Regions from separate parts of the Homo sapiens genome. Here region 2 is linked to region 1. The links are contacts of gene promoters, found by promoter capture Hi-C in human tissues and cell types (Jung and others, 2019). All regions are on one chromosome and are shown on one strand. Each heading gives the region's core, a stretch centred on a gene start or on the middle of the fragment in contact. The rest is flanking DNA. Distances are from core to core; before and after follow the strand shown. Region 1 holds the start of MZT2A (mitotic spindle organizing protein 2A). Region 2 overlaps GPR39 (G protein-coupled receptor 39).

Region 1 (6,199 bases), core at 1,350-3,849:
CTACCTCTCAGCTCACCCAGGTCAAAAATAAAAAATGCTCAGACCTAGACTTCACAGACAGGAAGTCTGCCAAGTCCCACTGGTGGCCTAGTTACAGTTTTCCTGGCCCAGCTCTGCCCACTGCACAAGTAACGGCACTGGGGTGGCACCTGGCAGTCTGTGGAGGAAGAGAGGCTGGGTGTAAAGAGGCCATGTAGGCAGTTGTAGAGTGAGAGGAGACAGGAATCTCTGCCTCTCTGCCACTTGGCAATAGGAACATCTCCCAAGTTTTTTCAATTTTTTTTTTTTTTTTTTTTGAGACGGAGTCTCACTCTGTCGCCCAGGCTGGAGTCCAGTGGTGCTATCTTGGCTCACTGCAAGCTCCGCTTGGGTTCACGCCATTCTCCTGCCTCAGCCTCCCGAGTAGCTGGGACTACAGGCGCCGGCCACCACGCCCGGCTAATTGTCTTTTGTATTTACTTAGTAGAGTGGGTTTCACATGTTAGCCAGGATGGTCTAGATATCCTGACTTCGTGATAAGCCCGCCTCAGCCTCCCAAAGTGCTGGGATTACAGGCGTGAGCCACCGCGCCCGGCCAGCTTTCTCTTTTCCTTTTTTTTTTTTGAGACGGAGTCTCGCTCTGCGCTCTGTCGCACAGGCTGGAGTGCAGTGGCGCCATCTCAGCTCACTGCAACCTCCGCCTCCCGGGTGCAAGCAATTCTCTGCCTCAGCCTCCCAAGTGGCTGGGATTACACGCGCCCGCTACCACGCCCGGCTAATTTTTGTATTTTCTACTAGAGACGAGGTTTCACCATCTTGGCCAAGCTGGTCTTGAACTCGTGACCTCGTGATCCACCCGCCTGGGCCTCCCAAAGTGCTGGGATTACAGGCGTGAGCCACCGCGCCCGGCCTCAATTCTTAACCTAGCTATCAATTGCAGTGTTAAAGAAAAACGCCTCAGTCCTAATGCACTTGGTCAAGAAAACACTGCACTACTGCAAAATGATCAAAGCAGCATTAAACTGTGGACTGCTGGATAAGTGCGGAGCTCTAGAGATGATGAAGGGGAGAGCATCTCTGCTCAGTAAAAGCTTTCATGGGCAGCGACTGAAAGAATGAGGCCCAGAGGAATTTCTAGGAACTTTCCAAGAGAGGAAATTCAAACCCGAGAACTCCCAAGAGGTGTCTCCCACACCCCTGTTCTCTGACCCTGCCATGGCCACCCTCCCCCGTCACAGGTCTCTGCGTGCCATGCACCTAGAGTCCACTTCGTCGCGACTCTCCAACACCTATTTTCTCCAGGAGCTGCTTCGGACCCGTTTGTTTTTTTTGTTTCGTTTTGTTTTGTTTTTCTGACAGCGACAGCCCTTGGGCAACGCTAATCATTCCAAGCAAATTCTGTCATGCCAAGACCTCCCTTAACAGCACGCGCCCACTTGTTTCCAACTCTCCTGCGAATTGGGCTTCGGGAGCCTCCGAAACCAAGGCTCGGAGATGTGGAGCGCACAGGGGAAGGGTCGAGCTGGGACCCACACCCGGCTCTTCCTCCCACACCGCCTGTTGAGCCCAAGGCTCAATTTCAACACAAAGCTCTCCTTCCCTCAATTCCTTCAACGACGGGTAACCTTCAACGAACACCTACCGGACCAGAACAGAGTGTACGAGCGGCGCGGGAAGGTGGCACAAAGGCATGGCCCAGAGGAGTGGCAGGAAGACTCAGCCGGGGCCCTCCACTCCCCAGCCTGCCCGGCCTGGGCAGAGCCGCCGGGCCGCCCGAGTCCTGGGGCTCGCGGAGGAACGGAGATGGCCTCCGCAGGGGCTCGCGGAAGCCCCCAGGGCGTCGGACCGTCTCACGCGCGCGTCCCGCGCCACTCACCTGTGGGACCCATAGCGTCGCCCGCTTCAGAGGTGGAAGCCGCCATTCCGCCACCGCGCCAAAACGTCGTCATCAAGCTGCGCGCAGAGCCACGCCCCGCGGCCGGGCGGGAAAAGCGCTTCTACCTCTTTGGGCCGTTACCTCAAAAGGTACGTGCGCAAAGCGAAGAAGGCCGGCCGGCCGGCCAGGGAGGGGAAATGGCGAGGCAGGAGTGCGGGGGGAGGGAGTGGTCCTTAGCTGAATGCGCCTGCGTTGTGGCGGCCTCTGGCGCCCCAAGGTAGGGCTCACGCACTTTCTCCCTAGCAAGGAATGCGCGTGCGCGTAAGCAGGGTTGTTGATTAGTGCCCCCCACCCCCCCCGAAGAGCGACCCCTAGTGGTGCACCGGTGCGGACCAGAAAATTGCACGCTTTCTTGAAACAGGTATTGACTGAGCGCCCAATGTATGCCTGGCACTGGGCTGGGTGCTGCCACCTAAGCGAGCACGACCAATGCAAGTCTATCAGGGACGCCCTGACCGCCAAGCAGCTGGCCCCTGCAGTCCGCCATGCCACTCCCGACGCCTAGCGCGCCGCTCAGCACACCGTGAGCGCCCACTAACTGTTGGGCTCCAATGACGCCGAGGAGGCGGCCCCGTCCCCGCGCTCCCGCCGCTCCCGCCAGGGCAGCCCGGGAGGCCAGACGCTGGCGCTGCAGGGAGAGGGCGGTGGGCGCATCCGCTAGGGGGCGCGGCGGGGCGGGGCGCACCTTTCGGCGGGCCTCGCGGATGGCGGCGCAGGGCGTAGGGCCTGGGCCGGGGTCGGCGGCGCCCCCGGGGCTGGAGGCGGCCCGGCAGAAGCTGGCGCTGCGGCGCAAGAAGGTGCTGAGCACCGAGGAGATGGAGCTGTACGAGCTGGCTCAGGCGGCGGGCGGCGGTATCGACCCCGACGTGTTCAAGTGAGCGGGGCGGGTGGGGGCCGCATGCTCGCCAGACACCCCCGACCTCTGCTCTCCGGGTACGCCCGGCCCGCTGGTCGGGAGGAGCCCCCGCTGCCCCCGCCCCCGTCCTTGTCCGGTCTTCAGGGAGGTGGCCGCGCCGGGCGGAGAGGGCTCACCGGCCCCGCGTCTGTCCCCGCCAGGATCCTGGTGGACCTGCTGAAGCTGAACGTGGCCCCCCTCGCCGTCTTCCAGATGCTCAAGTCCATGTGTGCCGGGCAGAGGCTAGCGAGCGAGCCCCAGGACCCTGCGGCCGTGTCTCTGCCCACGTCGAGCGTGCCCGAGACCCGAGGTCAGAGCTGGGCCCGCTGTCCCTGCCCCAGTGGCGGGGGTGGCGGGCGGGGAGGGGGCAGGCGCGGCACAGCGGCGGCGTGGCCCTGAGTGGCCAGGCCTGTCTGTCGGTCGGTCTAGGCCCAGCACCTGCAGGGCCCATCCGTGGGCTCTGCTCCTGGGCTTCGCTGCCAGCCTTAGGAGGCACGTCCAGGTCAGGTGGACGCAGAGTGCGTGCCCCAGGGTGGTCCAGGCTGGGTAGGGCTCCTCCGCTTAGCTCCTCCCCACCTCTTCACTCAGGCCTTCATCCTACAAAGTCGGGAATCAAGACGGTTTGGGGCTGGGCGCCGTGGCTCACGCCTATAATCTTTGGGACCCCACGGCGGGAGGATCCTTTGAGGCCATGAGTTTGAGACCAGTCTGGGTGACAGGGTGAGATCCTGTCTCTAAATGTTTTTCAAAAGACAGTCTCGATCTCTGTCCTGTGGTATACAGCATCCAGGGAAGTGCCCAGGGAGCAGGGCAGGCAGACGTCTTCCTGCCTTTACCCCACCTGGGCCCAGTTCCTGCCTCTGATGATTGCAGGAAGAGAGTTAGACGCGGAACTCCCAGGGTGCAGAGGCCTGCGGGGTCTGAAGGGCCTCCTCCCTCTCCAGTGTGGTGACTGGGCTGAGGAGATGCTGGGACTGAGAGTGTCATGGTGGAGCCTCCGTCCCTGCTCATCCTCTCCGCATGTTGCTTCTGCTCCCGATGGCTCTCTCTGAAATGCAGCACAACCTCCCAGGCCAATGGAAGGAGGCCCAGAGCTGGCTCCCTGCCTGGAAGCAGGAGGAGACCCTCACAGGCATCATGAGAAGGCGTGGAAAGCAGGCTGCCTTCATGGGGGAAGTGCCAGGGCCTGGGCACCCACGCCCGCTGACCCAAGAGGGCCCGGGCACCTGCGTGCTGGCCTCTTCACTGACCCTCGCTCTGTCTGCTCTCTTTGTGTCTCTCTCTGACCTCCAGAGGCCTCCTTTCTCTCTGCCAGGAACAGTAGCCCCCCTGCAAGGCCCTCGTTTTCCTCCAGCCCGCAGCCTGCGGCCTCTCTGGTTATGCTCCACAGCCCAGCTGCCACACACTCACCTCTCTCTCCAGGCCCCCCGGGTTCCCTCCGCCTCTCTTGCTGCCTGTTCTCTCCTTTTGCAGGTTGCGTTTATTGGCTTATCTCTGGGGGTTGGTGCTCTTCCTTGTTTTCATGGAAACTGCATGGCCCCAAGAGGCCCAAGCAGCTTTGAGCTGCAAGGGCAGGATCATGCAGGCCACCGCTGCCCTGCCGCTTAGCCACAGGGCACTATTTCTGACTCGGTTTATTAGAGACATGGTGTGGCAGTCTCTAGACCCCACAGTCGGGCTGGCATCCGGGGACAGGACCAACATCCCCACACCCCAGAGGCGAACTAGTGGTGAGTGTAAAGAGCCCCTCTCCAGGGGAAGACAGCCAGCCGGGTGCAGTGTGCTCTGCTGGAGAGCACAGCCCCAGGCGTGACAAACGCCTCGGCCTCTTAGAAGTTGTCCCCTACCTGGACAGGAAGTCTGGAGGCTGAAACAGAGACTCCCACCTTCCCAGAGTCTGCCAGGCAGTGCCACACAGATGCCATGTGCTGGTCCCATGGCCACACTCCAGCACTCAGCCCCCTTGCCCGCCTCACTCCTGAGTTGGGACACTTTCCAGGTGTCACCAGGTGTGATCAGGGGCCTGTGAGAGCCCAGGGGTCTTTGGTCGCGCCTCCTGCATGAGCCTCCTGACAGCGGCCACCTCACTGCCACCCAGAGCTCAGGCCCAAGAGAGGGTGGAGAGGGCCTGAAGGACAGGCCTGGAGTAGGGGTGTATGGACTGCAGGCTGAGATGAGCAATTGAGGGGCAAGTGTCCAGCAGGAGGGAGAAACTGGGAACAGAGTTCTTGTCACTCCAGGAGATGTTGCTGCTCACTTAGCACTCACTCAGGGCTCTGGGTGCCAGGCCTAGCTCTCAGGGCAGAGGGCGTGGCAGGGAAGTGAGATGATCACACTCAGTCCAGTGAGAGGCAGTGAGGAAAACCACCAGTGAGACCAGTGTGCTGGCTCACACCTGTAATCCCAGCACTTCGGGAAGTCAAGGCAGGTGGATTCCTTGAGCTCAGGAGTTCAAGATCAGCCTGGGCAACATAGCAAGACCCCATCTCTACAAAAAATACAAAAACTAGCCAGGCAGGGCCCGGCGCGGTGGCTCACGCCTGTAATCCCAGCACTTTGGGAGGCTGAGGCGGGCGGATCTCGAGCTCAGGAGATCGAGACCATCCTGGCTAACACGGTGAAACCCCATCTCTACTAAAAATACAAAAAAAAAATTAGCCAGGCATGGTGGCAGGTGCCTTTAGTCCCAGCTACTTGGGAGGCTGAGGCAGGAGAATGGCGTGAACCTGGGAGGTGGAGCTTACAGTGAGCCAAGATTGCGCCACTGCACTCCAGCCTGGGTGACAGAGCGAGACTCCATCTCAAAAAAAAAAAAAACTAGCCAGGTGGGCGTGGTGGTGGCGCCCATCTGTATTCCCAGCTACTTGGGAGGCTGAGGTGGGAGGATTGCCTGAGCCTGAGGGGGATGTTGCAGTGAGCCAAGAGCTTGTGACTGGACTCCAGCCTGGGCAACAGAGCAAGACCCTGTCTCAAAAAAAAAAAAAGAAAAGAAAGGAAAAGAAAAACCACTAGCAATGGAGTTGGGAGGAGGCTTCAGAGCCCAGAGAGCAGCAAGGGTTACACAGGGTGGAGCAGGAAGGGTCAGCAGAGCCCCACACGTGTGAGCTGGGGCAGTGGGAGGGCATGGGAGAGGCAGAGCGCTGTCCAGGTGCTGGTAGGCCCAGGGCAGGAGGAGGCAGGTGGGGGGGCACAGTCAAGATGTATGTGGGGGTTGTGGCACTGGAAATGCAGGCATAGAGGGGCCAGGAGGATTAGGGGGTGCCATGTGAGCGAATGGGGGCTCCAAGAGAATTTACCCGAGGACAGGAGTGGCCTGGAGTGCTGGGCCCCTCAGGGTCATTTGTTTCTCGAGGGCTGTGTCCTGGAAGCATAGCCCAGGTCCTGTAGGC
Region 2 (6,199 bases), core at 1,489-3,988, 1.1 Mb before region 1:
TGTAGGGAAACTCCCCTTTTTAAAACCATCAGATCTCGTGAAACTTACTATCATGAGAACCGCACAGGAAAGACCAATTAAACGATGGTGAGGCCCAAGTATCAGTAGTTTTTAAAGAACTTTTCAGGTGTTATTAATATGCAGCCAAGGTAAAAGACCACTGCTTGAACTAATCAAGATTCACCATCTGCTGCAGGGTCAGATACCTGAAAAAGTTCCAGGTTCTGCTGGTATCTTAGCCTGTTTTCTGTTTCTGTAGCTGAATACCTAACACCGGGTAATTTATAAAGAAAAGAAATTTCTTTCTTACCATTCAGGAGGCCGAGAAATCCAAGGTCAAATTCTTCTTGCTGGTGGGGACCCTGCAGAGTGCTGAGGAGGTGCAGGGCATCGCACAGAGAGAGGGCTGGAGCATGAGCCAAACTAGCTTTTATAACAGACCCTGCTTGTGCTGACTAACCCACTCCAGTGATAACCCATTAACCCATTCATCCATGAGTGGATTAATCCATCCAAGGGGACAGAGCCTTCATGACTCAATCACCTTTTAAAGGCTCCACTTTTTTTTTGAGACTGTCTCCCTCTGTCCCCCAGGCTGGAGTGCAGTGGTGCAATCTCGGCTCACCGCAACCTCCACCTCCCGGGTTCAAGCGATTCTCCTGCCTCAGCCTCCTGAGTAGCTGAGATTACAGGCATGTGCCGCCATGCCCGGTTAATTTTTGTATTTTTACTAGAGATGGGGTTTCACCATGTTGGTCTCAAAATCCTGACATCATGATCCACCTGCCTCGGCCTCCCAAAGTGCTGGGATTACAGGCATGAGCCACCACACCTGGCCAAAGGCTCCACTTCTTAATACTGTTACTTTGGGGATTAAGTTTCAACATGAATTTCAGAGGGGGTAAACATTCAAACCACAGCAGCCAGCAAGGAAGAAGGCAAATGGAGAAGGCTCCCGGGAAGGCCATTGATTGTGGCTGTCAGAGCTGGTCCCACAGCAGGACGCTGAAGGTATGGAACACAGAACAGAAAAATGTTCACGGGAAGGAAAAGGCCTTGGAGGGAAAGCTGAGGGAGAATGGCCAGGGAATGTGTATTGGGAAATGACCAGGGAACGTTATGTGTACCACAGTGCGTGAAGCCGGAGCACTTACCCTAAGCTCCTTCAGTATCTTGTGCATCACAAGACATCCTGTCAATCACCCACTCCTTCACCAGCCCACACTCTCACCAATACTGAGTTTTTTCTCTTGCATCTGTGCCACCCGAACAATGTTGCAAAAACGTTTCATGGGTCATGGAGGAGAGGAGGGTAGTGTGAGCAATGAGACAGCAACCCTAGGACAAAACTCCTAGAGAGATGAAAGGACACTGAAAACAAACACACCTGCTTTTGAGATTTTTCTGTGGCCTCACCCCGCTTCTGATCTCCTAGGAAACTAAGCAATGGCAACAAAAGCCAAAATTGACAAATGGGATCTAATTAAACTAAAGAGCTTCTGCACAGCAAAAGAAACTACCATCAGAGTGAACAGGCAACCTACAACATGGGAGAAAATTTTTGCAACCTACTCATCTGACAAAGGGCTAATATCCAGAATCTACAATGAACTCAAACAAATTTACAAGAAAAAAACAAACAACCCCATCAAAAAGTGGGTGAAGGACATGAACAGACACTTCTCAAAAGAAGACATTTATGCAGCCAAAAAACACATGAAAAAATGCTCATCATCACTGGCCATCAGAGAAATGTAAATCAAAACCACTATGAGATATCATCTCACACCAGTTAGAATGGCAATCATTAAAAAGTCAGGAAACAACAGGTGCTGGAGAGGATGTGGAGAAATAGGAACACTTTTACACTGTTGGTGGGACTGTAAACTAGTTCAACCATTGTGGAAGTCAGTGTGGCGATTCCTCAGGGATCTAGAACTAGAAATACCATTTGACCCAGCCATCCCATTACTGGGTATATACCCAAATGACTATAAATCATGCTGCTATGAAGACACATGCACATGTATGTTTATTGCAGCATTATTCACAATAGCAAAGACTTGGAACCAACCCAAATGTCCAACAATGATAGACTGGATTAAGAAAATGTGGCACATATACACCATGGAATACTATGCAGCCATAAAAAATGATGAGTTCATGTCCTTTGTAGGGACATGGATGAAATTGGAAATCATCATTCTCAGTAAACTATCGCAAGAACAAAAAATCAAACACCGCATATTCTCACTCATAGGTGGGAATTGAACAATGAGATCACATGGACACATGAAGGGGAATATCACACTCTGGGGACTGTGGTGGGGTGGGGGGAGGGGGGAGGGATGGCATTGGGAGATATACCTAAGGCTAGATGACGAGTTAGTGGATGCAGCGCACCAGCATGGCACATGTATACATATGTAACTAACCTGCACAATGTGCACATGTACCCTAAAACTTAAAGTATAATAAAAAAAAAAAAAAAAGGAAACTCATCTCACTGCTTGTGCTTATAAAGAATCTAAATGAGACAAAGGCTATTGGGAGTTCATAGGGGAGAGTCCATAGGAAGACTGCAACTTGAGCGATGTTTCACTATGAGTGTCCTTCTGCTTCTTCTTTCTCAGTCCCTCTCATTGACAAATGACTTGGCTAAATACTGGAATCACATAGGAAGCATCCAAAAAATCCCCATGCCCGGCTAATCGTCACGCCACTAAATCAGAATCTCTGTGGGTCAATTATGGCATCAATAGTTATTAAAGGCCAGGAGTGGTGACTCACGCCTGTAATCCCAGCACTTTGGGAGGCTGAGGCAGGTGGATCACCTGAGGTCAGGAGTTCGAGACCATCCTGGCCAACATGGTGATACCCGATCTCTACTAAAAATACAGAAAAATTAGCCAGGCATGGTGGCAGGTGCCTGTAATCCCAGCTACTCAAGAGGCTGTGGCAGGAGAATTGCTTGAGCCTGGGAGGTGGAGGTTGTGGTGAGCCTAGATCATGCCACTGTACTCCAGCCTGGGCAATAGAGCGAGACTCTGTCTCAACAAAAAAAAAAAAAAAAAAAAAGAAAAAAGAAAAAAATAGTTATTAAAGCTTCCTAGGTGATTCCAATGTGTTGAGAAATCATATAAGAATACTCATCAATAAACCAGAAATTTTGAAGATTATGCCCTCAAAGTGTTAGATTTGTAAGACTCCGTGGAGAGTGATATTACATGCATCTTTTTGAGCAACTTTTTCTCAAGATGGTGCAGGTACTGGCCCACCTGGCACAAGCCACAGAGAGGAAATGAGGTGGAGGTGGGAGTCAGCAGAGGAAGGGGTGAGAAAACAGAATGTCCTCTCCTCCTTACCTACTCGGGGCAGTGCGCCAACTCAGGTTGGACATGTTGATAGGGAAATACAAAGAAATTATTTTGAACATAAGATGAAAGGAGAAGGGAGGGAAATGCCATAAGAAATGACCCAGAAATTTACAATAATTGAGCTCATTAGTCATATCTGTTTATTATCTGTAATGTGCTCTGAATGTTTCCTGGGAGGGGTGGCCACTCATCCAAGGCCACAGGGGCCACAAAGGCAGCCAGGAATCAGGGATGCTTGGCTGGTGGTGCAGGTGGCAGGGCCCTTGGTATCAAAGGGTTTAATGTGTAAACTAACACTATTACATTTCCTCCAGCGCTCTCCAGCACAGTGACTATTTTCAGTGGTGACTCCCACCTCAGTGATCCTCAGCCGCCTCAAGTCAGCCAGGAGGATAAATATGTTCCTGACAGGTTGGGTTGCTCATCTGCTTATGACAATGGATTTTCTTTTCAAGGTGAAATGGGCTGTTAGAGGCTGTGGGAGGATGTGCTTGCAGCAGTGGTTTCAAGGCTTTGCTGTACGTTTGAACCACTGAACAGCTTTTACAAATCCTGGCTTGGAGGCCAGGTCACATCCCACACCAATTACAACCATGTCCATGGTTGGGGTGGGGGGACCCAGGCACCTCCAGGCAATTCCAATGTGCAGCCAAGTTTGAGAACCAGTAAGTTAGAGGAGCAATCCTCAGCCCAGGCCACCTATTTAAATCATCTGCGTGCTTTCAGAAATACCAGTGCCAAAAAACAGCAAAACAATGCCAGGGCCCCACTCCCAGACGTTCTCATTTAATTGGCTTGGAGTAAGGCCTGAGCATTGGGATTTCTGCAAGTCCCCCAGGTAGGATTTTAACAAGCAGCCAGGGTTGAGAAGCTCTGAGCTGGAAGGCAATGACTGATCATAGCCAGGTGGTGGTCACATTCACCATAATCCAGTGATTCTCAAACCTTGTTGGATCTCATTTTTGTAAGGCATGAGCCATCTCACATGCTCTGAAGTTTTATAAACAGGATACTCATTTTATTTTTACTCCTACCTCAGCCTCCCAAGTAGCTGGAACTATAGGTGCGTGCCACCATGCCGAGCTAGTTTTTGTAGACACGAGGTCTCACTATGTTTCCCAGGCTGGCCTCAAGCAATCCTCCCAAAGTGCTGGGATTTCAGGGAAAAGCCATCCCACCCAGCCAGGATACTAATTTTACATTCTCAAGGGAAGCACATACTTGAAAGAATACTGTGGCTGATAGGCCTTTGATAAAATTAGGAGGCTGTGAGTATAATCACCTCCTCTCAATAGCTGATCTGTTTGAAAACTGTTGTTCTGCCAATAGTGAAGCTCCACTGTGTTAGCAAGTGCGATCCTATGAACTACACTCCCCTTTTGAAAATTAGCTTAGTTGTATCCTTATCCCTGGAATCAGAGTGGACATGGGCACTTAATGTAGCAGGACACATTTTATAACACTGGGAGCAGAGGACAGGACCACCTTCCCTGTGGCAGCAAACACTGCTCTGCCAGGCTCTTTGGGAATAATGCCGCTTTTTTAGGGATTGCATTTTCACTTGCTATATTTAGATTTGAGTAAGGATGAGAAATGTCCTAACAGCATATATGGTACTTTAGACTTAAGTCTTTTGCCCTAACAACTCATTGAACTTTCAACTCTTTCTCGGTGTTGCTGCATGAGCTTGTTCTGAAGTTAGAGATGTAGGAAGAGGTGGATACCTTCATTCATGCAGGTGTGCTACATGAGTGCATACTGTGTGCTGGGTTTTGCTGCTTTGTAAATAGTAGATAACCCCTGCTATCTATTACTATCTACTACTATCTACCAGTGGCTCCCTCTTGGTGGTGACAGCACTGGGTGCTAGGGTATCCAAAGAAGGAATATTTAACCTAGTCTTGAGAGTGTCTCAGAAGGCTTTCTGTAAGTGACAAAATAGGATCTTAAAGACGAAGGAGAATAGGCTGGGGACAGATTGCATTCTGGACTGAAGGATGAGTCCATGCAAATGCAGAGAACCGTAAGAAATCCTGAGAGGTGAATCAGAACAGCCTGAGTACGATGTCCTGATGCACCCACACGGAATGAGGCTGAAGAATTAGGCAGGGCCAATCATGAAGGGCCTTGTGTAACATGCAAAAAGGCTTGTATAACATGCCAAAGAATTTTCCCAAATATGATGGAAAGTCATTGAAAGCTTTTGAACAGGGGATCAAATATAATCCAATTTGAGTTTTAAGAAAACCACTTTGGTGGCAGTGTGAAGAATCAGTCTGAGGGAGAAGAGATGAAAGCAGTGGCTCTTAACCTTGGATGCACGATGGAATCATATGGAGAGCCTTAAAAAAAAAAATGGATGCCTGGGCCTCACCCTCAGAAATTTGAATGCAATGAGATTGGGGTGTGACCTGGACATCAGGTTGCTAAAAGTTCTCTGTGATAGTTAATATTCTGGGTTAACTTGACTGGACTGGGGTGCCTAGATATTTGGCCAAATATTCTGAGTGTGTCTGCGAGGGTATTTCTTGTTGAGATTAACATTTGAATAGGTAGGCCTAGTAAAGCTGACAGTTGTCCCTAATGTGGGTGGGCCTGGTCCAATCAGCTGAAAGCCTAAATGGAATGAAAAGTTGGAGTAAGAGGGAGCTCCTCCTGCCTGAATGCTTGAGGGGGACATTGACCTTTTCTGGCCTTTAGACTTGGACTGAAACATTGAGTCTTCCTGGGTCTTGAACCTACCAGGTTTGTCTGGAACTTATACCGTCAGCTTTCGTGGTTCTCAGGCCTTTGGACTTGGACCGGAACTATACCCTTTGCTC

What was found. The method cuts DNA at HindIII sites, captures the fragments that hold promoters and counts their contacts. A contact is called where the count stands out against the background at its distance.
Region 2: a fragment that was not itself captured here is called in contact with the fragment with the promoter of MZT2A in region 1 in 1 of the 25 tissues and cell types used here (stomach).

Annotation. Positions count from the first base shown.
Region 1 is chr2:131,488,797-131,494,995 of GRCh38, reverse strand. MZT2A (mitotic spindle organizing protein 2A) reads left to right here and starts at 2,599. Exons shown (of 3, transcript NM_001085365.2): 1 at 2,599-2,789; 2 at 2,972-3,120. The coding sequence starts at 2,620. It overlaps MIR4784 (microRNA 4784), which reads left to right and starts at 3,760; the gene lies at 3,760-3,836. It also overlaps the pseudogene SMPD4BP. RefSeq lists silencers at 1,659-1,848, 2,369-2,878 and enhancers at 1,681-2,474, 2,475-3,268. The HindIII fragment of the contact is 8,382 bases long and covers 1-6,148 here.
Region 2 is chr2:132,561,690-132,567,888 of GRCh38, reverse strand. The region is part of intron 1 of GPR39 (G protein-coupled receptor 39); the gene reads right to left. Among named protein-coding and RNA genes, the nearest start is that of LYPD1, 110 kb to the left of the region's middle. The HindIII fragment of the contact is 7,792 bases long and covers 1-6,199 here.